2 separate regions of the Homo sapiens genome follow, and region 1 is linked to region 2. The links are contacts of gene promoters, found by promoter capture Hi-C in human tissues and cell types (Jung and others, 2019). All regions are on one chromosome and are shown on one strand. The core of a region is centred on a gene start or on the middle of the fragment in contact, and the rest is flanking DNA. Distances in the headings are between cores, read along the strand shown. Region 1 has its middle 51 kb from the start of BAIAP2L1. Region 2 holds the start of BAIAP2L1 (BAR/IMD domain containing adaptor protein 2 like 1).

Region 1 (6,145 bases), core at 1,468-3,967, 50 kb after region 2:
GGCCAGGATAAGCCCGGTTGGTGTTCACTTACAAGCTTTCCTTCGCTAGAGTCAGGGCTCCCGGTGGGGAGAGGAACATTTCATCTTAAGATATTTGCAGATTTATTCACGGAACTTCCCACATATCTGGATGAGGATATACGACTTGCCCCCTGGAGGAAAGAGTTAAATGAATCGCTAAAGCACAAAATGTTCCTGTAAAATTGCTTCTATATTTTATTAGACGCAGATGAGCATGAATTATTGTGAAGCCAGCAGGGGAGTTTGCAAATTTGGTTCTTGCCTTTTTCCATCAACAACCCCCAATCACCTAGATGGTGATGGAAGGACTGGTTGAGGGATGCTGGTTTGGGGTAGGACCCTTGAATAAAGAGCTCATTCACTTGTTAATTCATCCAGCCATCAGAGGTTTATGGGGCACCTACTGTATGTCAGGGAAAGCAAGCACAATTACAGCTTGCAGGTATCATTCTTGTTAATCTACCTTCCAACGACACCACCAAGGTCCTTCTGAGATGCGCCATTTTTGTTTCACGGTTATGTTGAGGATGGCATTTGGGGGAGGAAGCTTCCTTTTGAGCCTCTCAGAGTGCCACTCTTATCTGTGCCATAGAAAAGAAGTCACATTTCACCTACCCCTCCACGGTCAGAAATGCAAATTAACATGAAATTCCACTTTCCAACAATCTCCCGATTTGCATCAAGGTGTAAAACTCCTTGGGAGGAAAATGGACACAGTTGTGCAAAATTGGTTTTCTAGCTGAATAGATCTGATTAGTTTCTTACACTCGGTGTGGCTCTGTCAATTTATTTTTTCTTTTCTTTTTTATTTTATTTTATTTATTTATTTATTTATTTTTTGAGAGTCTCACTCTGACCCTCAGGCTGGAGTGCAGTGACATGATCTCAGCTCACTGCAACCTCTGCCCCTAGGTTCAAGTGATTCTGCTGCCTCAGCCTCCCGAGTAGCTCGGATTATAGGCACGTGCCACCACACCCGGCTAATTTTTGCATTTTTAGTAGAGACGGGGTTTTACAATGTTGGCCAGGCTGGTCTTGAACTCCTGAGCTCAGATGATCCACCTGCCTCGGCCTCCCAAAGGGCTGGGATTACAGGCGTGAGCCACCATGCCCAGCCAAAAATTTTTTTAAAAAGAAAAAATAGTGGCTGGGCATGGTGGCTCATGCCTGTAATCCCAGCCCTTTGGGAGACAGAGGTGGGAGGACTGATTGAGGCCAGGAGTTTGAGACCAGCCTGGGCAATATAGTGACACCCCATCTCTATAACAAATAAAAAATTAGCCAGGTGTGGTAGTGCGTGCCTGTAGTCCCAGCTACCTGGGAGGCCGAGGCAGCAGGGTCACTTGAGCCTGGAGTTCAAGACCAGCCTAGGCAACATAATAAGACCCCATCCCTGGAAAAATTACAAAAATTAGCCAGATGTGATGGCATGAGCCTGTAGTCCAAGCTATTCAGGAGGCTGAGGTGGGAGGATCACTTGAGCACAGGAGGTTGAGGCTGCAGTGAGCCATGATAGCACTGCTGCCCTTCAATTTAGGAAACAGAGCAAGACTCTGTCTCAAACAAAATTTATTTATTTATTTTTGAGACGGAATCTCACTCTGTTGACCAGGCGGGAGTGCAGTGGCACAATCTTGGCTCACTGCAACCTCCGCCTCCCAAGTTCAAGCGATTCTCCTGTCTCAGCCTCCACAGTAGCTGAAATTACAGACATGTGCCACCATGCCTGGCTAAGTTTTGTATTTTTAGTAGAGGCAGGGTTTCACCATGTTGGCCAGGCTGGTCTCAAACTCCTGACCCCAGGTGATCTGCCAGCCTTGGCCTCCCAAAGTGCTAGGATTACAGGCGTGAGCCACAGAACCCAGCCAAAAATTTATTTTTAAGTTTTTTTTCATTTCAGTAGCTTGAGGGGTACAAGTGGGTTTTGGGATGTGGAAGAATTGTATGGTGGTGAAGCCTAGGATTTTAGAGCCTCTGTCACCTGAGTAGTGTACTTTGTATCCAATAAGTAGTTTTTCATCGTCACCCACTACCATCATCCCCTTTCTGAGTCTCCAATGTCCCCACTCTGCATGTCTTTGCATACCCATAGCTTAGCTCCCACTTATTGGTGAGTACATGCAGTATTTGGTTTTCTGTTCCTGAGTTACTTCACTAAGGATAATGGCCTCCAGTTTCATCCAAGTTGCTGGAAAAGACATTCTTTCTTTCTTTCTTTTTTTTTTTTTTTTTTTTTTTTTTGAGACAGGGTCTTGTTCTGTCACCCAGGCTGGAGTGCAGCAGTACACAGCTCACTGCAGCCTTGACCTCCTGGGTTCAAGCAATCCTCCCACCTCAGCCTCCCAAGTAGCTGGGACTACAGGTGTGCACCACCATGCCCAGCTAATTTTTAAATTTTTCATAGAGATAGGGGTCTCACTATCTCTATGATTGCCCAGGCTGGTGTTGAACTGCTGGCCTCAAGCAATTCTCCTGTCTTGGCCTCCCAAAGTGCTGGGACTACAAGCATGAACCACCTCACCCTGCCCCTATTTCGTTTTTTTTTTTTGAGATGGAGTCTCGCTCTGTCACCCAGGCCAGAGTGCAGTGGCATCACTGCAACCTCCATTTCTTGGGTTCAAGTGATCCTCCCACCTCAGCCTACCTAGTAGGTGGGACTATAGGTGCATGCCACCATGCCTGGCTAATTTTTGTATTTTTAGTAGAGATGGGGTTTCACCATGTTGTTCAGGCTGGTCTGGAACTCTTGAGCTCTGGCAATCCTCCCTCCTTGGCCTCCCAAAGTGCTGGGATTACAGCATGGGCCACCGCACCCAGCCTAATATGTAATCTTAATTGAGAGCCACAAGCATTCGTTCATCAGATATCATTTGGTAGTTTTTATTTAATGGGTATATGTCTTTGAAGGTGATGCCACATTGGAAACGGGTCCCATGGGATTAATTTGGATTACCTTTAGGGAGTGACCATCAGAATTTTGGAACTCAGCTGTTGTGTTCAGTTGAGTCACTTATTAACGTAATCACCCAAAGCTGGGTGCAGTGGCTCACACGTATAATCTCAGCACTTTGGGAGGCCAAGGCAGAAAGATGGTTTGAGCCCAGGAGCTAGACACCAGCCTGAGCAACATAGTGAGACCCCATCTCTACCAAAAAAAAAAAAAAATTAGCCAGTCCGGGCGTGTGGCTTACATCTGTAGTCCCAGCTATGCAGGAGGCTGAGGCGGGAGGATGGCTGGAGTCTGGAAGGTCAAGGCTGCAGTAAGCCACGATTACACAGCTGCACTCCAGCCTGGGCAACAGAGCAAGACCCCAACTCAACAAAATAAAATAATCACCCAAGATCTGAGCTGTTGTATAATTAAAATTTTGTTCTAGAATAAAGAATTTCCCTGGTTTCTGAAAGGGAGCGTCTAAGTTCTTGGAATTTCCTGAGTGATAGGAGTGTGTGTTATTCACACAGACTGCCCATACCTGAGTTTATGTTAATGAGGTGACTTGGGATGGGAGCTGGCCATGCCAGGAAGTCCAATCGTGTGATTACAGGGTTGGGGCTTTGAGCCAGATGATATCAGCCCAGTCTGTGGGGTGGGGTAGGGTGGGAGGCTGGAGACTGAGTTCAGTCACATGGCCAGTTATTCAATTAATAATGTCTATGATGAAACCCTAGTAAAAACTGTGGACACTGAGGCTTGGGGGAGCACCCTTGTTGATGAACATAGAGGTGTGCCAGATTCTATGGGGAGAGGGCCTAGAGACCATGCATTTGAGACCCTGCCCCCTCCCACCACCCTCAGGCCTTGCCCTATGTGTCTCTTTGTTTAGCTTGTCCTGATTTGTACTCTTTATAATAAAACTGTAATTGCAAATATAGAACTTACCTGAATTCTGAGTCATTTTAGTAAATTATTGATCCCGAGGAGGATCATGAAACCTCTTCCCCTCCCAGATTGGTGGCCAGTTGGTCAGAAGTGCATGTGTCTTGGTGACCCCTGAACTGGCCTCTGAAATGAGGGCGGTGTTGCTGGGAACCATGCTCTTAAACCTGTGGAGTCAGATGTTAACTCCAAGTGCCTGGCGTCAGAATTGCATCGCAGTAATTGCAGAGCCAAGAGAACGCCACACCGTATTTCATTTTGTCAGCCAAGAAATGATCTCTCGAGGGCTTATTTTGTGCCAGGCCTGGTGGTGGGTGCCACAGGTACCACCTAACTGTTGAATGTTATGTTACTGAAGGAATTCATCAGGCTTAAAATAGCACCTGTGTCAAAGGGACGACACTGTGAAAAGCATGCCGTGATCGGAATTACTATTTTTGGGAGGATGCACAGATTTGGAGGACCAGATTTTCCCATACATTCATTAAACCAAGGAAGTCAAAAAGCTTCATGAAGTTAAAGGCTGGAAAGGAATTTTTAGCATTACCTTAAGAGGTGTCCCATTTCTTAAGAACTTGGAGTCATTTCTTGATGGAGAAAGGATTCCGGTGGCAGACACTGTGGTCCTATCCATGAGCTCTCCTTGGGATGTGCCAGTTGTGGTGAGTTTGCTGGGGGAAATGTTTGAGACCACTGTTAGCAAGGACTTGAGAAGTGCACCAGGCATAGTGTACCAAGAGCAGGAGGAAGGGCTTGAGGTCTCTTTGAGTCCTCATGTGGATGGGTGGGCCCATGACAGAGAAGCACTAGTAGATGAATGTCTGTAAGATCCCATATTGGGGCTGGGAGCAGTGGCTCATGTCTGTAATCCCAGCACTTTGGGAAGCCGAGGCAGGCAGATCACGAGGTCAGGAGATCAAGACCATCTTGGCTAACACGGTGAAACCCTGTCTCTACTAAAAATACAAAAAATTAGCCAGGCATGGTGGCGGGCACCTGTAGTCCCAGCTACTCGGGAGGCTGAGGCAGGAGAATGGCGTGAACCCGGGAGGCGGAGCTTGCAGTGAGCCGAGATTGCGCCACTGCACTCCAGCCTGGGCAACAGAGTCAGACTCCGTCACAAAAAAAAAAAAAAAAAAAAAGCTCCCATATGATCCCATATTGGGGGTTTTCCTGTCCTGGGGGCCAACACCTCCATTTCTCTCTCTTTATATTTTTTTTGTTATTTAGTTTTTATTTCACAATCATAAACTTAACTCCGTAATCCAGCTAGGCATGGAAGGGAACAAGGAGAACATGGAACCAAAGGGAACTGCAGCGAGACCACAAAGATTCTAGGATACTGCGAGCAAATGGGCCGGAAGGGTGCTCTCCTGAGCTACAGAAGGAATGGTCCGGTGGTTAAGATAAAACAGAAGTCAAACTTATTAGAGTTGTCCGCAGTCAGCAATGGTGATCTTCTTGCTGGTCTTGCCATTCCTGGACCGAAAGTGCTCCATGGCCTCCACAATCTTCATGCCTTCTTTCACCTTGCCAAAGACCACATGCCTGCCATCCACCACTCAGTCTTGGCCGTGCAGATGAAGAACTGGGAACCATTTGTGTTGAGTCCAGCATTTGCCATGGACAAGATGCCAGGACCTGTATGCTTTAGAATGAAGTTCTCATCATCAAATTTCTCCCTGTAGATGGACTTGCCACCAGTGCCATTAAGGAGTGTGAAGTCACCGCCCTGACACATAAACCCTGGAATAATGCTGTGAAAGCAGGAACCTTTATAACCATATCCTTTCTCTCCAGTGCTCAGAGCATGAAAGTTTTCTGTTGTCTTTGGAAACTTGTCTGCAAACAGCTTGAAGGAGACGCGGCCCAAGGGCTCGTCGATAACAGCAATGTCGAAGAACACGGTGGGGTTGACCATGGCTGATAGTACAGAGTTCCTGGTGGCGGCAGTGTCTGCAAAGCTTCTCTCTCTCTTTTTCAAGAAATAGGGTCTCACTCTGTCACCCAGGCTGGAGTTCAGTGGCACAATCATAGCTCATTGCAGCAGCCTCGAACTCCTGACCTCAAGCGATCCTCCTGCCTCAAACTCCTGAGTAGCCGGGACTAGAGGTGTGTGCCTCCATGCTTGGTTAATTTATTATTATTATTTGTAGAGATGGGATATGGCTTTGTTGCCCGGTCTGTTCTCAAACTCCTGGTCTCAAGCGAGGATCCTCCCTCCTGGGCCTCCCAAAGTGTTGGGAT
Region 2 (6,251 bases), core at 1,895-4,394:
GACATTTCAGCAAATGTGTACACAGCATATATTTAAGGATATTTGATATTGGCTACAGAGGATCATTCTACTTTATAATTCCTCCTTTTCTCTAAAGTATTCCTTTATTTCATAATTGGAGAAACCTGAGTATTTAAAAACAAAAAACTAAAACCCATACTAGCAAGTCATTAAAAAATCATTTGCAGGTGGCTTTTGTAAACACACCTGGTTGTGTTGCATTTCTATTAGTAAAATATGGTAGATGGTTAGGTAATATAGAGGACATCTCTTCTTAAAAGCACTAGATTCATCAACACTGCCAGATTTTTGCCATATTAAGCTTAAACTGTTTTCAGCTTGAACATCATGGGGCAGGGCTGGATAGGGGGAAGAACCCAATACAGGGGCGGGAAAAGGTTTTTCAGACTCCTGAATTAAAATTTCACTTTGCACTGCCAAAGCCAAAGCATGGGCTAGCAGCCTTCACTATTTCATAGATTACATAAACTTGTAGTCTGATGCTGTAAATATCCTACCACCTGGACATTAAAAAAAAAAAAGGTCCCAAAACACTAACAAGGAAATAGTAATTAAAACGAACAAACATTTAGTGAGCTTTCCAGTTTGCTTTCAGACACCTGGCAATGGAAAACTATCAGGTACTGGTCTTTGATCTCCATTTACAGTGCCTTACGTCTACAAATACGTATAACCAAAATGATGAAATCCACACTTTTTCCCTGCCGTTTCCGTTCTTTGGGTAATAAGACATGCCCAAGTGGTTGGCATTTGTGACGCTGCAATTCGCCTTGGTACGGTCCCTCTAAGGAGTTATTACTAAAAGTCTACGTCAGGAAGAAGCGGGAGAAAAAAAGCAGGGTTTAACTCAGAACACCTGACTGCTGGTCTCAAGTTGCAATCGCAGCTCAGACTGGGAAGATACACAGGGCTGTTCTTGGAAGAAGGGCGGAAGGCAGTGGTGTTCTGTATTTTTGCACCCCAGTGGACATCAGACTCTGCCTCAAATTTGCAATGGCCTGCCTTCCTCAATTACACAGTTTTTCCTTCACTGACAGTCAACAGAGCAGCCACTACTTACTTTCCAGGTCTGAGTCTGGCAGAAAGAACGTTTTATTTACACACTTGGTCAGTACCCCACACCTCATGCAGCAACGTCTTCCGGGTCATTTAAATAGTAGCAATCTCAATACAAATGTAGGAATTTCTCAAATTTCGAATTTCTCAAATTTCTAAAGATCGCCCTCTATGAAGGCAACACACGAATAGAAGAGTTTTTGGTCACAGTGACTGAGCATCAAAAACGCTGTGTCAACTGTGTCTACTCTCCCTACCTGTAAGGCATAATTTATATGTGACAGTATACACTTTGTGTGTTAAGATAAACGGAACGGATCTCTTGGATTTCAATACATAACAAAAATGTTCATGTTCTTCTCTTACTTTCATTCAACAAAAGTTAATAGACTCCTCTGATTTTAGGAATTCAGACCTTGAAAACCCAGAAACTAAAATTTTAGGTTTAAAAAAGTCTATCAAAATGACTAAACTTCCTGATTCAAGCACCAGGGACAGAAAAAAGATAAAACACACCAACCAACCAACCGACCAACCATTTATTTATAACCTTAAACATGCCTATACATGAACTTAGAGAACGTTAAAGTTTCAAGGGTTCGAAGCGCCTAGGCTGAATTAAAACAAAAGTTGTTTTGTGTTCTATTAATAGCAGATGATTAACAGATATCTTATTTCACCTGGAATTCATTTGTAAGTATGTAAACTAAACAGGCCACTAATCCTAAGTCTCTGTCTGTGTCTGGAAAAATTCTCTCCTAATACATGCAAGTTAAGAGACCGGCTATCAACGCATTCCTTAAGGTTAGGTCAATTTCATTAAAACCTCGGTTGTTCTTTGACTTCAAGAACCTCACCAAATAACCCATATATAAAAGCCAAGTTCAACTGAAAGGTGGGAGAGGAAGGGTCTAAGGAGGAGGGCGTTTCCCGGGAGAACGCCCAGAGCTCGGCTCACCTGGCGATCCTAATTACAGGGGAGTTTCACCCCCACATTCTTGGGCGCTTTCTTTTCTTAGAGGAAACTCGAGCTTGTGTCTTTGGTCCCGGAGGGCTTAAGCCCGGCAGCCAGGACAGCACGGGTCACTGATTCCAAGAAGTTGGGAGGAGGACGTGGGCCCCACCGACGCACAACAGACCCCTCCCCAACTTAAGTGCACTAGTTGTAAAATGTGTAGCTGGTCAGGGGATGGGGGGTGGTCTCCAGAGCTCTGAGGGTCAGGGAAGAGGAGAAGGGACGGGGAGGAGAAGGGACAGGGGAGGCGGAGAAGGGCCAGGAGAGGAGGGGGAGACACACGGGGAAGGAGGAAGAACCAAGAGGAGGGGGAGGGGGAGGGGGAGGGAGGGGGATAGACTGGGGAGAAGAAGGGACAGGGGAGGAGGGGGAGACACACGGGGGAGAAGGAAGAACCAGGAGGAGGGGAGGGACAGTGTCGAGGGGCAGGGGAGGAGGGAGAGTGAACGGGGAGCGGAGGGGCAGAGGGAGAGGTACAGCGGGGCGGGAAAGAGAGACAGGGAAGAAGCACAGGGAGGAGGGGAGGGAAGGAGGAGGAAAAGTAGGGGGGAGGGGATGGGGAGGGACTGGGAGGAAGGAGAGGGCCAGGGGAGGAAGAAGAGGGGCTGTGGAGGGCCAGGGGAGGAGTGGGAGAGACCGGGAGAGGTGGAAGGACGCGGGGGAGGGGAGCTGGAGGGAGGGAAAGTACCTTCCCGCGTAAAGTCCCCTTCTGAACCCCGAGGTGGAAAGCCCTGACCTCCCTGAGCCCCGGGCCCTGGGCTTACCCGGTAGGTGCTCTCCGTGAGCCGGTTCACCTCCTCGGGCCCCCGGGACATGGCTGCGGCCGCCGGGCGAGCAAGCGCGGGAGGACGCGGCTGGGCCTCGTGGCCGCCGGACTCCGGGCAGCGGGAGGGCCGGGGCGCGACTAAGGGGCTCTGGAGGGTCGGCCGCCGCCGCAGCCGTCGGCCCGAGAGTGCCCGCGCGCGTCTCCGCTGCGAAAATGTCAAAACTTGCGGCAGCGCCGCCCTGGCCTTCTTCGAGGAGCAGAGGAGAAGCGGCCGGACGCCGCCAGAGGAAGCTGGGCGGGCCGGGCGGCCCCACCTGAGGCGGGCGGGGCAGACGGGGGCGGGGCCGCAGGGCCGGAGGGGCGTGGCGTACCCACCTGAGGCGGCCTGGTGAGCGGGGCCCGGCCGGGGTGGGCGGGGAGGAGGCGGGGCCAGGCAGCTGGAATGGGCGTGGCCAGAGGGAAGCGGGCCCCCCGAGTGGGCGGGGTCACCCCACCTGTGGCGGACAGGGCAGCGAGGCCACGGTGCGCCCCCTCGCGGCTCTCCCAGAGCTCCGGCGACGTAGGGCCCGAGACCCTGGAGTGGGGACCGGTGTGGAGTGGGCTGCTCGCTTTGCTGTTTTGCTAGGGCAAGGGCAGCCTGGGGGTGTTTAGACTGTGGTCCTGGAGCCCTTGTTTGCCTCGCGTGGTGCTGGCCCCGGGGACCCCGAGGCCCACTTCCTCCATGAGGGCTTCCTTCAAGCCCTGCGTTTTGGGGACCAAGGGAAGGGGCCACATTCCCCAGTTGTATTGATTTCCCTGATTGATCTCTTCTTGCCCCGCCGCTCACTGACCCCAAAAGTTAGAGGGACCCGTGGGGGCATCGGCCCTCCTAGGTGGAGAAAACGGGCTGCCACTTGCAGTTTTGAAAGCTCCTGATATATCAAAAAATTAATAAATGCCAGGGTCTAGTTACCGAAATGTTAGTACTTTTTTTTTTTTGAGATGGAGTCTCACTCTGTCGCCTAGGCTGGAGTGCAGTGGTGCGATCTCAGCTTGCTGCAACCTCCGCTTCCCAGGTTCAAGCGATTCTCCTGCCTGGCATGAGCCATCCTGCCTGGCCCCCAGATAGAAGCTTTTTGTTTGTTTTTGAGACAGAGTTTCACTCTTGTCCCCTCAGGCTGGAGTGCAGTGGTGCTCTCTCAGCTTGCTGCAATCTCTGCCCCCCAGGTTTAAGCAATTCTCCTGCCTCAGCCTCTCGAGTAGCTGAGATTACAGGTGCACGTGCCACCAAGCCAGGCTAATTTTTTTGTATTTTTAGTAGAGACGGGGTTTCACCATGTTGGCCAGGTTGGTCCCGAGCTCCTAACCTCAGGTGATCCGCCCTGCTCAGCCTCCCAAAGTGCTGGGATTACAGGCTTGAACCACCGCGCCCGGCCCAGTAGTACATTTTTAAACTTTACATTAACAACGACCTTTAACTCAATGCAGTGTAACCATGCTACTCACGAGATTGTTGTAGGGTTTAGAAAACCACCTGAGCTGAAGTGTTAGGGAAGCCTCTCTTCTTGTCATCACTCAAACTCTGTGGAGGTGTGTGGCTCCTGGGCTCCCTATTTTGTCTCCATCCCGGCCTCAGCCCTGCCCAAGGGTGAGGCAGCTGCCTTCTTTGGGCCTCTCTTCCAGGATTATGTACCTTGGGCTGGGTGACAGCCTTCTCCCCAGTAAGAACCACCATTTAGCTACCTGAGACCCGCACCCAACAAGGGCAGAGGTCTTATTCTGATTTTTTAAAACCTCTGGGCTTGGTGGCTCATGCCTGTAATCCTAGCACTTTGGGAGGCCAAGGCAGGCGGATCACTTGAGGTCAGGAGTTCGAGACCAGCCTAGCCAACATGGTGAAACCGCCCTGCCCCCGTCTCTACTAAAAATACAAAAATTAGCCAGGCATGGTAGCACGTGCACCTGTAATCTCAGCTACTCGGGAGGCTGAGGCAGGAGAATTGCTTAAACCTGGGAGGCAGAGATTGCAGTGAGCTGAGATAGCACCACTGCACTCCAGCCTGAGGGACAAGAGCGAAACTCTGTCTCAAAAACAAACAAACAAAAAGCTTCTATCTGGGGGCCAGGCAGGATGGCTCATGCCTGTAATCCGAGCACTTCGGGAGACCAAGGCAGGAGGACTGGTTGAGTCTAGGAGTTCGAGGCCAGCCTAGGCAATATAGGGAGCCCACCCCCATCTCTGCAAAAAATATAATTAAAAACATTAGCCAAGTGTGATAGTGTGCATCTGTAGTCCCAGCTATTCCGGAGGCTGAGGTAGGAGGATGGCTTGAGCCCAAGAGGTTGCAGTGAGCTGTGATGGTGCCACTGCATTCCAGCTTGGGCCACAGAGTGAGACTCTGTTTCAAAAAACAAACAAAAATGCCAAAACGTCTATGTGAGTGCAATTGCATCTTTTATGGGCTGTTAAGATGTGAGACTTCTGGCCAGGCGCAGTGGCTCACGCCTGTAATGCCAGCACTTTAGGAGACTGAGGCAGGCAGATCACCTGAGGTCAGGAGTTTGAGACCAGCCTGACCAACATGGAGAAACCCCGTCTATACTAAAAATACAACATTGACCAGGTTTGATGGTGCATGCCTAAATCCCAGCTACTCAGCAGGCTGAGGCAGGAGAATCACTTGAACCTGGGAGGCTGAGGTTGTGGTGAGTGAGATCACGCCATTGCACTCCAGCCTGGGCAACAAGAGCGAAAATTTGTCTCAAAAAAAAAAAAAAAAGAAAAAGAAAAGAAAAGAAAAAAGAAAGATGTGAGACTTCTAAACTAATCTTGTGATAAAGTTCACTAGGAAATATACACAATGAAGGCACTGTGTGGCCCAGATGGGAACATCAAGAGGGTGAGTACCACTGGACTTAGAACAGAAACCACCACCTGGACTTGGGGACTGTTTTATTGGGTTTTGCAAACTATAAAACACATCATGCAGCTAGGCACAGCGGCTCACGCCTGTAATCCCAGCACTTTGGGAGGCCAAGGTGGGTGGATCACTTGGGGTCAGGAGTTAGAGATCAGCCTCACCAATATGGTGAAGCCCCGTCTCTACTAAAAATACAAAAATTAGCCGGGTGTGGTGGCAGGCACCTGTAGTCCCAGCTACTCGGGAGGCTGAGACAGGAGAAGCGCTTGAACCCGGGAGGCGGAGGTTACAGTGAGCCGGGATCTCATGCCACTGCACTGCAGCCTGGGCAAGAGAGTGAGACTCTGTCTCAAAACAAACAAGCAAACAAAAAAAACTTACCATTCTTGGGAACCAAAATGTTATGTCTTCCTGATGTTAGGGGGAAATAACACATCAGTCCCAAGTTTCTGGCAATGGAAGCAGGTGCCTTCTTCTTTAACAGATTTACAGT

Evidence for each region. Contacts are between HindIII fragments. The study calls those that stand out against the background at their distance.
Region 1: a fragment that was not itself captured here is called in contact with the fragment with the promoter of BAIAP2L1 in region 2 in 1 of the 25 tissues and cell types used here (neural progenitor cells).

Annotation. Positions count from the first base shown.
Region 1 is chr7:98,448,788-98,454,932 of GRCh38, forward strand. It overlaps the pseudogene PPIAP82. Among named protein-coding and RNA genes, the nearest start is that of BAIAP2L1, 51 kb to the left of the region's middle. The HindIII fragment of the contact is 4,832 bases long and covers 302-5,133 here.
Region 2 is chr7:98,397,946-98,404,196 of GRCh38, forward strand. It overlaps BAIAP2L1 (BAR/IMD domain containing adaptor protein 2 like 1), which reads right to left and starts at 3,145. Exons shown (of 14, transcript NM_018842.5): 1 at 2,857-3,145. The coding sequence starts at 2,907. RefSeq lists a silencer at 2,819-3,478. The HindIII fragment of the contact is 4,393 bases long and covers 65-4,457 here.